2 separate regions of the Homo sapiens genome follow, and region 2 is linked to region 1. Evidence: promoter capture Hi-C in human tissues and cell types (Jung and others, 2019). All regions are on one chromosome and are shown on one strand. Each heading gives the region's core, a stretch centred on a gene start or on the middle of the fragment in contact. The rest is flanking DNA. Distances are from core to core; before and after follow the strand shown. Region 1 holds the start of CDH19 (cadherin 19). Region 2 has its middle 140 kb from the start of CDH19.

Region 1 (6,159 bases), core at 2,295-4,794:
TATTTTAGCATGGTTAGAAGTATATAGATTAGTGAATATTTTGTTTATTGTTTGTTCTATCATTGTGCATTTTTTTATTTCCCCATATTTATCATTGTGATATATATTCAATGTTAAAAACAGAATGGAAAACACAGCAAATTGGACTGTTGGAAAAGAATGCCATTTAATGGCAATCCATGGAGAAAATTATTATTTTTATTTTCAGCATTTTAAAAGCTATTTTACATGAATATCTGAAGTGAACACTGGACGTCTAGTTGGTTATCAACTAGATTCAACCACTCCACTCTAATTTGGGGAAATGAATCTGTTTTTCTATCAACTAACTCTTTCTCTCAGGTTCAGGAATGACAATTACTTTAAGCTTTTCTTGTTGCCATTCTTTGTTCATGCATGGACAAGTGATCATTTTGATGAATAAGACGAAAGTGACAGTGTTTTTGAGGGCCTTGAGGAAAAGTTGGAGAACCAAACAGAGCCCAAGAACCTAGATAACTGATTGCAGTAGGAAGCCACTGGATCAACTAACCCTTAACCCTACTTTATTTCTCTATGTATACATTGAATTTCTTCATTATTCTATTCATTTTTGGATTTGATTTTGTTTGATTTTGCTATCTGCTTGCTAGTCAATAGATTTCTCATTGATATAGTGATAGCATACAGTAAATATCTGTTTTAAATGTTCTTGTATTAACATATTATAAGCTTTTCCCAAAACAACTTAAATATATTTTTAAGAACTAAAATGCTTCCAGACCATGTGAGAAGGATGTGGTCCTTAGATTATGCTATCCTGACAACACCTGATTGGACAAGGCCTAAATTTCTAATTGAAGGCACATGTATAGCCTATGATATAAAGTAGGTAGACTTAAACTTTCTGGTTAAATGTCTATTTTCAAGGGACAGATCAGAGCTTGCATAATGTTTGACTTTCCATTTCTGCCTGTTCAGTTAAATTCAAACTTCATTAGCCAGTCTTGTCTGCGGTTAGTCATTAGATATATATTTCTTAATTATCTGGTTTAAAAAATTGGTGGCTCTGAATTATAATACTTGAATTCAAATTTTTATTTAGAGTAACTCAATACAATCCTGGCTTCTGCAACTTCAAGCTCTGTTCCTTAGCCTGCTGGCAGGTGATAACTGTGAAATTCCCCCAGACTGCATGTGAAAATAGACCAGAATGTCACTGTGCAGCTATAAAACATCACTTGTGTTTCGGGAATTGTCCATCCTGCCACATGTTTACTGCTGTGGGGACCTCAGATAACTCTGAGTATGATAACTCTGACTTACATATGGATAGTAGTGTATTTAATTTTGAGCTTCTGTTCTTACACAGTCATGTTCCATTTACTATGTATTACCCCCCCATATATGAAAAATTAGTCAGATATATTTCTCTTGTTATAAAGAAAATGACGTAGAAGTAATCATTAAGCTGGGCCGGGTACGGTGGCTCAAGCCTGTAATCCCAGCACTTTGGGAGGCCAAGGCGGGCGGATCACGAGTCAGGAGATCGAGACCATCCTGGCTAACATGGTGAAACCCCGTCTCTACTAAAAATACAAAAAAATTAGCAGGGCGTGGTGGCGGGCGCCTGTAGTCCCAGCTACTCGGGAGGCTGAGGCAGGAGAATGGCGTGAACCCGGGAGGTGGAGCTTGCAGTGAGCCGAGATTGCGCCACTGCACTCCAGCCTGGGCGACAGAGAGAGATTCCATCTCAAAAAAAAAAAAAAAAAAAAAGAAGTAATCACTAAGCTTATCTGATGACCAGTCCCCTAAGTACTTCCAAGTCTTCATTCTTGGTTGTGGCATAGCGGATGAATCTTGCTGGATCCTTGGCTATCGGCTGTTCATCTTATATCCTCTTCCAGAAAGGGCATGCATTTCTTAAGCAATTTACAGCAACTAGTTCCTGTACGTGTTTGATAATAGATTATCTATTTAATAAAATCAGTTTGCTGTTAATGATATTCTACATAAAACATGTAGTTTCACACTGTACCTTCTTTAGAAAATTTAATCCTGTCTCACTGTGGTTTCTATAGTTGCCATTGCTCTTTATTGGTACTGTAATAATCAGGGCAGCAAATTGTGACCCACCTTTGCTCCCTTAGGCTCTAAAATAAGCCTTTGGGACATCATGTTTACAGGTACACTGAGGCTCTAAACTGTGGTTTCAATCCTAAGTGCAACTGGATATTTTATAAACATCAAGATATAAATTGGCATCTCATAAAATGTTAGATTCTTACAGAAATCCTAGACTAGGTCATAGACAGAACAGTGAATTATGTAAATAAATATTTTAAACAGGTATCTCCACCTTTTTTGATACTGTAAAAAATATGAAGGGGGAAATGTATAAGAATACTTCAGAGGTTCTTTGTAAAATTTATTTTTTCCCTATTTACTAACATCTTGAAACACTTAGAAGTGTTTTTTTCTAGCTGAATGCTTTTTTCTACCTGAAAAAATAAAATATTTCCACATTATACTGTTCCTGCTATCCACAGATCTATTCTCCCAGGTTCATCTCTTCAAGATTTGTTCATAAATTATTGATTCCTCCTAATATTCACAACCTCATAGGATGTGCATTTGTGCGTGTGTGTGCATATGTATGTGTGTGCACATGTATGTGTATGCATGTGTGCACATGTGCATGTGTGTATATGTGTGTGCTTGAGTGTCCTACTTTACTGCCCATATAGCTTTTGCCATTTCTTTCCTCAAAAGCTAAGAGGATAGTGACCAAAATATCTATCAGAATTAACAGGATGCTTGAATAATCCTGCCCCACATAGACTTTCTTATTATATAGGTATAATTTAAGAAACTTTTAATATTTTAATGTTTCTCTAGTTTGGTTCAAAAATGGTTTTTAAGTAAATAACAGCTTGAGTAAACAGCATAGAAAATACATATGTATTTTATGTTAAATAATAATAGCTTATATCAAAATCTAATTATAACCATGAATAAAATAAAAGATTTTACATAATAATAAACCAAGGAAAAGAAAAGGACTTATTAAAGTTTAGACATTTCTCTCTCATTATGTCTTTACTTGATTTCTGAGGAGAAATGACCGAATTAAGAAACAGCCATGAGGCATAGACACACAGTGGAAAATCATTTCTCTTTTCAGTAAGTTTTGGGTCTGCTTTAAATTGATCATTTGTTTCATCAGCTAATCCCCAAACAGAGGGCACGTCCGCTCTACTTGCAAAATTCTTGTATGTAAGTTGAATTCTCCCTTTATCAACTCAGGCCAATAAGTACTTTATTTTGTTTTTGCTTGTTGTTAGGGGAAAAAAAAAAAAAACAAAGATAATCAGCTCATACTACTTGCGTAGCTGTCTGCATTTTAATTCCAGACTATGAACGAGCGTCAGAGTGCCCTTATGATATTTTGCACAAAAGGCTCAGTGTTTATGACTCTACTCAGAGAACCCAAAATAGCATTGAGTAAGCAGTGACATACTGACAGTGTTGTGGTACTAAAAGCACAAGCGTCTGTAACTCTGGGCAATGGGGCACATCGAGAGTTTGCTGAGAAGACTGTGAAGCAAAAAGAAGAAAGTTTTTCCTACTCTTCCTTATGTGTCCAACACGAAGTTTGCTGTTCAGTTTTCACAGAACTTCTAGAAGTTGAAGTTACAAAGGTAAGACTGTGATAATCAGGCATATTATAAACTACATGCATCATCTTTAATGAGTCAATAGGTCAAAAAGTACATGACAAAATGTTGCTAGGAAAATATTCTAAAAATATTAAGGAAAATATTTACATAGGAAATAAGGAAAATATTCTAAAAATTTTAAAACCATGATGTGTACTTGTACTGAACTTTCTCAAAACACGTATTTGTGAGAACAGTTCTCCATCTCTGTAATACAGATTGTTGGTGTTGGGGGGAAGTTACACCTATGTTAGGATATTTAAAACTTCTCAAGTTTCTTAGAATAAATGAATCAACCTTTCTTTGCATGTCTTTCTTTGCACTTTTTTCTTTGTTCAGGGTTTTATTTTTTATTTATCATGTATTTACCATGTATATCAGGTAATATGAACAATAGAGTTGTCATCATTAAGTATATGAGAAAAAATATATACAGAATAAATATGAAAAATTTTAAGTATATTATAATTCCAAAAAAATTAAAATATTAGCATTGCTATGAATAAAAACACATATATGCCTAAAATTGTACAGGCATATTAATTTACCTATATGTATTATAACATTTATACATAACACAAAAGGTAATTTCTCAAATATGAAAGTATAAATTAAGAAAAGTATAAATTAGGAAAATGCATACTGTAAAAGACATTTTATATTGTTTCAATTCTAATTTGGTACATGCAATTTTAATTGAATAACTAATTATAATAAAATATTTCAAAATAAGTTTACCAAAGGGATTTAATAAATCTATTAAATATAAAAACATAAAATATTTAGCAACAAAAAATACCTAAATAGAGTGGCAAAGGTTTTCTTTAGATTATGTCAATTTATATTTTAGCTCTATTAATTCATTTGTTGAATTAATATATCTGTAAGAAAGACATTATTTAGATAAAATATTTGAAAATTTAGTAATATATATTTATGTTTTAGATGTAGTTACAATATTAAGTAAAATTATATGCATTAATATATTCTTTTTTCAAATTCTTAATATTGTAATTATCAGCAGTATGCCTACTTACTATAATTTTTGATTTCAAAGAATTTAAATTTCAATGTAATGTGAACATTTATATTGACCAAATAAAATAACTAACAATTTATTTTTAAAAGGAATAAGCATTTCATTATTGTCTGCAATTATTCAAAATTTTTAAACAATCAATTTATGTCATTTAGAAACCACCAGATCTCCTTTCCTTTACATATGTTTTCCACTTTACCAAGCCTTTATAACAGTGAACGAAATGCTCATATCATTATATAAATATCTGATTTTTACAGTCTTACACATTAGTAAATTCTTTACTTAGGCTCCAGTGAAATATTTATAATTTTAGGCACACACAGACACATCTGCATATATCGAAAAGCATATGTCTTCTACTTATATTTTTTGTTTTGTTTTGTTTTTCACTTAGGAATGTTTGTAAGGTACATTTCCTCAAGAAACATAAAAAAATTTTTGATTAAATTATCATAAATTGAAGATGCTTTAAAATGATGTGCACAGATGCCTCCTATGCATTATTAAGAAACCAGATCCATCTTTCAGGAATTTCTCCTAATACAGCTACATATAATCTGATACATATCATCTATAACTAAATATCAACTGATCATTTTTGCCACTCATGATCTTAGCATGTACTCTTAAATATATGTTATGTTTAAAACATTACATAGCAGTATTCAGCATGTTAGTGAGTAGTAATGCATTAGGAATAAATGTGTTAAACTGTTTAAAAGGAGATATTGATCTTTCTATATACCTTCTTTACATGAGAATTTATTGCTCCTAACCAAGTGTTTGAGAACCATGCTGGTGAATAAGAAAAATTTGTTGTCACGACGATTTCCTTTAACATCGATGATCTTCTATCACCTGTATCTTTGCTTTGGTGAAACAGATTGAAGTTGAAACACAACTAAGTATGGAACGTAATAATAATCCCACAGGAATCCTTTCTATCAATGGTGAAGACAGCCCCTGATTGACAAAATGAGTGTCTTTGCAAAAGTGACTAGAAAGATGTTTGCCACTTTAAAATCAAATCAAAACAAAACAAGATAAACTGTACCCTTACAGCGTTTTTTTTTACCCACTCTCACCACCTTTCAATTGAGAGAACACAGCTAAATGCTCTAAAGCCTGTCAAAATGTGTAACAGATCAATTTCCTTTTCAAATGATGCCTGCCCTCTTGAATATGCTGATATGATTCGTTAAGAGAATGCTTGTCTGAATTTAAAACATACTCTAGAATACATACCTTTGTCAAAATGTGTCACATTAATTACTCAATAATTATATTCAGAATCATCCAAGTATGTCTTAAGATTAAAGCAAAACATCATTTTTAAAAATCCTGCCTTGGCACAACACGTGAAATTTGAAATGTTATTTTAGGACAGTGGTTTCTCAACATACCAGAGCAGTAGATCCA
Region 2 (6,803 bases), core at 40-2,539, 140 kb before region 1:
TTAGATGATGATGTGGTATAATTGAGACTGTCGACATCTCCTATAAATATAGCAATAGAAGATAGAATACGGATAGTTTCATTACATACTGAACCTTTGGACACATGCATGTCCAAATACATATCTACTATATGCTCATTATAGTCTAGAGTGGCTTTGATCCAAGGTTCACAATCTAACAGTTATCCCCAGGTCTCTTACCTCCCAAAGATCAAATGGAGTTGAACACTGGTAAGCAGATAGTTCAGTTGAAAACTGCAACAGATCATAAAGTCACAAGATAGTGCTGAGTCAAATAGATTCAATCCAATTTATTCCTGTTCTTTTGTGTGAAGAGCTTATAGGAAATGACTTAAACCATTCTTTACCCTTGGCAGCTGCTAAACTCCATGTGGCTTAAATGAGAGATATTCATGTTGGTTTCATTTTCTCTCAGCTATTTCATGGAACACCTACATTCTTTCTTTGCTGTCATAGTTTGTGAAAAAACATTAATGGTTAGGAAAAATGCTTACCATTGCACATTTTTTGGGAATTTAACAAGGAGCACAGAAAAGCACAGAAATAGAAGAAAACAAAATGTGTTGAATATTAGTAAAAAATGGAACAGGAAATTAAAAATGGTGAAATGACAGTGTATAAAAATGTGCAAGGTAAAGAGGGATATAAAAGAAGGAAGAAGAATGCACACTATTTGTTTGTGCTTTGTATCTGTAACATCATACAGATAATACAAGTAAATAAAATTAACAGTTCCAAGATTAAACTTGCTTCTCAAAATGGTCAACATTCTGAAATCTAGTATCTTCTCCTTCAGAAATTCCTTTCCCCTCATTTTCTTTTCATTTTCATAAGGTGAAGTTTTCAAAAATAAAATAAACTGTTAATTTTGGGATTTCCTAAGTGTGGTCTGGCCTGAAGATGGCATTGTTGGAATACATCAACTCTTTGGATCCCGATAAAATGTTCAGCATACCAGCTCTTCAGTGAGGTGGGAGCGTTTTGTTCTGGGCCTTCTAGGATTCATCTGTGGTACCTAACCTCCAAGCTTTTCAGAACAAACTTTCAGCAGCAGGAGAACATTGTTACTTTTCTTTACCCTGTATTTGGAGTGGAGTGGCATGCCACAGATCAGAGATTCCCTATAGTTGGATTTGTATTAACTAAGAATCTTGTGACACATAAGGTTTTCAAATTTTATTGTGATAAAAATATTAGCAATCACCAATTTCATGTTTTAAAGAAAAAATTCTTTTTTGGAAAATCAATCACTTAAGTAAACTTTTTAAAATTTTTAATTTTTATTATATTTATTTATTTATTTATTTATTTATTTATTTATTTAGGGACAGTCTTGCTCTGTTGCCCAGGCTGGAATGCAGTGGCACGATCTCAGCTCACTGCAACCTCCACCTCCTGGGTTCAAGTGATTCGCCTGGCTCAGCCTCCCGAGTAGCTGGGACTACAGGCGCGTGCCACCACGCCTGGCTAATTTTTGTATTTTTAGTAGAGACAGGGTTTCACCTTATTGGTCAGGCTGGTCTTGAACGCCTGACCTCGTGATCCTCCTGCCCTGGGCTCCCAAAGTGCTGGGATTACAGGCGTGAGTCACCGTGCCCGGCCTTTAATTTTTAATTTTAGTTTTTGTGAGTACATAGAGGGCGTATATATTTATGGGGTACATGAGCTGTTTTGACACACACACGCAATGTGTAATAATGACATCTTATAAAATGGGGTACCCATTCCCTAGAGCATTTATCCTTTGAGTTACAGAGAATCCAATTATTCTCTGCTAGATATTTTTTAATGACCAATTAAATTATTAAACTGTTTTTTAAATACATGCAAACATTAGGACTGATAAACTTACAAATTTAAAATTAAAGACAGTTTTTCAAATTGAATGACACTTGTATTGGTGTTAGTGTTGCCAGTTGAAATATGAGACTCCAGTTAAATTTGAATTTCAATTTAATACTTGGGACACAGTTATTCTAAAAAAAAAAAACCTGTTGATGATAATTTGAAATTCAAATTTATCTGGACACGAACCTTTACTTTTATTTGCTAAATCTGGCAACTCTAACTGGAGCGTAATTTAGTGGTGTACCTACTAAGCTTTATTTGCAGGTAAGCGTTTTGAAATGATGATCACATAACACAAAGTAGAAACTGACATACTAGCAACCCACACTGTGACATGACTGACATTTTTCTTAAGATTCCCAGGTACCTAATTTTCTCAAACTTGTGTTTTTAAAGAAAATTTAAAGTTGGTTTTGATATGATTATAAAAATAGTACTTTCAAAAACAATGAACTGAAAAATGACTAAAAATAAGAATTGAGTAATGTGTCCAAATACAAAACAATTAAATGTGTATATATTCAAATTTGTTTGTGAGAATAAATGTAGGTAATTGTGAAATGAACTGTGAAAACGGATGATGAAGGTTGACTTGCCATGCCAGAATTAATCTTATACTGACTTATAGAAAGAATAGAATCCAGAAACAGATCCATGCAATATAACTCTATGGTGAATTTTTTTTAAGGTGAAGAAATGTCAGAGTTGGGCCTGGCGTGGTGGTTCATGTTTGTAATCCCAGCACTTTGGAAGGGCAAGGTGAGAGAATAGCTTGTGTCCAGAAGTTTGAGGCCAGCTTGTGTAACATAGTAAGACCTCATCTCTAAAACAGTTTAAAAAATTAGCCAGGGGTGTGGTGTGGCATGTGCCTATGTTCCCACAAGTTACTCAGGAGGCTGAAGTGGGAGGATTGCTTGAGCCCAAGAAATCAAGCCTGCAGTTAGATATGACCATGCTACTGCACTCCAGCCTGGGCTACAGAGGAAGATGAGGTCAGAAAAAAAAAAAAAGCCTTATTAATTAATGGCTTATAATGAATTGAATATCTATTCTAAAATGACAGTAAGCATACACACAACTTAGAGTTTATTTCTTTATAAAAAATAAGTTTCATGAAACGAATATTACACTTTCAAACAGTAAAATAATGTGTTGAATGTGGAATTGAAATCAGCTGAGGAATACAGGATTAATCGTCATTTTAAATTCTTACTGATTATTAATTTTATAACTTTTGTGTGACATAAAAATAATATACACAGGGTTTTTCAAAATTAATAAAACTTTTAAAAGTCAAAGGTAATGAAATAACAGTAAAAAAGAAATAGGAAAATAAATTTGTAACATATGCATTATATCCTTAATGACATAAATGTAAAAAAAAAATCAGCTGTGTTTCAGGATAACATTTGTAACTTTTAAATATACTGAAAGAGCCTACAGGAAAAAAAAGTACTCTAATAAGTTGTTAACTAGAAAATTATACAACTTATTTTGAAGAGGAATCTGACAATAAAGATAAACTATTTAAACATATATGCTAAATAACAATTAGATAATGTACTAACATATATAAAAAATCCATTGCAGGGATTTCATACTAAAGAACAATTTAGATTTTTCTAAATGTGGAATAGATATTTTATTAACTCTAATAAATAATTTGTAATATCTCTGCATAATGGCGTAGTAAGCAGACTGTATAAAAATGAAAGAGAACTAAATGTATTGACTTCAAAAACAAATAGTAACCTATTGCATTGTGAAAGAAGTAGATACAGCATTATATGTATGGCATGATCCCATTTATTAAAAAGATTACACAATATAATCAGACACTGATATACATAATGAGAGAAATAAAGTATCATATATACCAAACTCAGGTTGTTCCAGTGGGTTTGGTAATGTGCAGACCTCCCAGACAATATAACATGTGAAAGATGCACATAAAATGATGTTAAAAGTGAATTTGTGCCATTTCCCAATGCCTTTCAAGGTCCTCAAATCAGTGCCTGATCTTTGGTGATTAATGCCTTTGGAGAGGGAAGAGCAAAAAAATCAAATACTTGTAGCCTCTTATAATTTCAGACTGGTTGTGGGGTCAATTCATTTCTTCAAAATCTTTCTATCACTCATTAATTTCTTTCCTTTCTGCACCAAAATTACATATTTCTATTACTTATTGTTGCATCATTATTCTTATAGAATCCCTTATAGAATCCCTGGTTATGGCCTTTTACTAGGATATATTTTCATTATTTTCTTCAAACGCTAAAAAAAATAGATTTGACTAGAGCTTTCTTTTGCCTTGGTGTAGTATTTTCCAATGTGTACCCCTCCTCTGTCATTTATTTTCTATTTTGTCTATGTGGGTGCCTGTGTGTGCCTTTGTCATTCTTCAGCCCTTCTTTCTGATAGTTAATGGTTAAGGAGACTTCAGGGATCTTGCTCAAGAAAGAAGTCACTGGTTTTGCTCCGACCAGTGAAAACTTTGTGTTCTTGTCTCTCACAGAGATCTGATGCTGCAGGCATCCCATCCAGGGGCTGATTTCCTAACGTCAGCAGCTGTTGAGCACATGAACTAATTTCCAGCATTAGGGGCTTATACTGTTTCCTTAAAATTGTGAACCCCATCTGTCTTCCACTCCATTTGATGTTTGCAATGCGAAAAAGGTTTCAGGCACATCTTTTTGTACCACATTACAATCCAAACTCTTCATGCAGTGATCATAAAGTACATCTATAAATGCTTACCCTCGGAGTCAGATGTTAAATTCTTCAAATAAATACCAAATGATTGTGCACACGGTCCCAGCATTTCTATTTGAGGTAGAAGCTAAAACACACGCACAACTTTTACATTTCCTTCCATTTACATAAAAGAAATAGTACAGAAAACATACAAATACTCTTGATTTGTTAGGCATCTGATATAGGTGAGAATCTGTCAGTATAAATTGAGTGATAGTTCTAATAATTTCTATTTATTCCAAAAATTATCTTGTACGCATTACTGGTCTATGAATAATTTTTAGCAATAGAAATGCATAATTACATTCATCATGAGATGAGCAAAGGAAGATGCCAGAAAGTATCTTCCCATTTATTTATTCTCCATATTTCCAACCTTATGAAAAGTTGACTTGCTGTGGAAAAATTAAATGAGTTTCTTATGAATGAAACTCATGCTGCCTTGATTGGCAGTCTGTGTTTCATTCTTTTCCATTTGCAGCAGTGAAATTCCTGGAATATGCAAAAGTAACTCTATAACTCGCTAATTCATTTGTTCACGAATTTATTCATTCAATAAATGTAAATTGGCATTTTTGCTACGTGCCAATGTTTTAAAGACTGGAAAAGCATTAGGGATCAAAAGAGACAGAGCACAGATCTTAAATTCTAGTGAGATGAAACAAATAAACAACTAATAATATAAAAAGTTTATTAGCTATGGATAAACAACAACAACAAAACAGAAAATAATATAAAATGAGGTGTTACATTTTTGTTGCTTTGACCAGAAAAAGCTTCCGTGAAAACATATTTGACTAAATTACAGAAGAAAGTGAGGCTACATATAATGTTAAATTGCGTTCTAAGAAGATGAACATCCAATACAAAGACCCTAGGACAGTGATTCTTAACTGTTTTGATCCCCAGGAGACACTTATCAGTGTCTGGATATATTTTTGGTTCTCACAAATTGAGACAGGGCTTGCTACTGGTATCTAATGAGTAGAGGTTAGGAGTGCACAATACAGTCCCCTACAGCAAAAATTTACCCAGCTCAAAGGATCAGCAGTGTCAATCCTGAAAAAGCCTGCCCTAAAGTGTTAATGTACCTGTCCTTTTCAGATATAACAAGGAGACAGGTGGTGTTAGATCAGAGTGAGAGGAGGAAGGGCAGTCTTAGAGTATGAGCATCTGAGCTCAGAGAGCTAACACTGCACGGAAACAGAGCAGGTCATGATGGGCCCTAAAGTTTGCCAACACGACTGTCCTTTCCTCTGTGAGAGAAGGGAAAACACAAAAGGATTTCCAGCAAAGCAGTGACATGAGCTCCATATGGCTTAATAAGATCACTGTAGTAAGAATATTGGGTTGTGATAAGAACATTGAATGACAAGGAAATTTTCAGGAGCATGGTTCAGAGTTTATGACAATAATTCGGGCAAAATATGATTTTTCACTTGGACTCATGATATAGCAGCAGGGGAGGTGAGAGGTGGTCAAATTCTGAATGTACTTTGAAGATGAAAAAAATAAGATTGCCCACCATATTGAATGTGGAGAGAGGAAGAGACTGAGAGACAGGAGAGAAAAGAAAATAACAGCAAAAGTAGAGTTTCCAGTAATGGAGATCGGGACGTCCTGACTGTTGGGAGCTTAGTTCCACTGTGTTAGGTTTGAAATAAACTCTGTTTTTGTATGCAACATAAATTTGAATTTCTATGATCACTCCCTGTGTTTCACAAGATTGTAAAACATGTAAGAAAGCAATGGGGGATTTGAGGTGACGTTTAGGTGTCTAATTTGTATGTTATAAATGCAACAGTTGAGAAAATTGGAGATATTCAAATGGTGGAATTAGAAGCCATAGGAATGTGGGCATAGAGGCTTCTAGATTTGGTGGCCTGCTATTTGGAAATGGTACTATAATTATTCAGGGATGTCCCGTAAGACAGACATAAGAACAATGAGAAGAGCTTAGAAGATGGCAGATTCTGCCAAAAAATAATAAAAAAAATCGAAGGATAGATTTTCTGCACCACTAGAGAAGTCAGCTAGTGAGCTTTTCATTTGCTAGCAGTAGTGCATGCTGAAAGTGAATGATTGTCTTTGGGGATTATTTACTAACATTTCTTGTGTTGGAAGATATGTGAGGCTCTCTAACATTCTGTCCACCTTAAGTGAGTATGAAGTATAAAATA

The links. The method cuts DNA at HindIII sites, captures the fragments that hold promoters and counts their contacts. A contact is called where the count stands out against the background at its distance.
Region 2: a fragment that was not itself captured here is called in contact with the fragment with the promoter of CDH19 in region 1 in 1 of the 25 tissues and cell types used here (dorsolateral prefrontal cortex).

Annotation. Positions count from the first base shown.
Region 1 is chr18:66,601,475-66,607,633 of GRCh38, reverse strand. CDH19 (cadherin 19) reads left to right here and starts at 3,544. Exons shown (of 12, transcript NM_021153.4): 1 at 3,544-3,680. The HindIII fragment of the contact is 13,282 bases long and covers 1,242-6,159 here.
Region 2 is chr18:66,743,390-66,750,192 of GRCh38, reverse strand. No RefSeq gene overlaps it. Among named protein-coding and RNA genes, the nearest start is that of CDH19, 140 kb to the right of the region's middle. The HindIII fragment of the contact is 4,942 bases long and covers 1-3,760 here.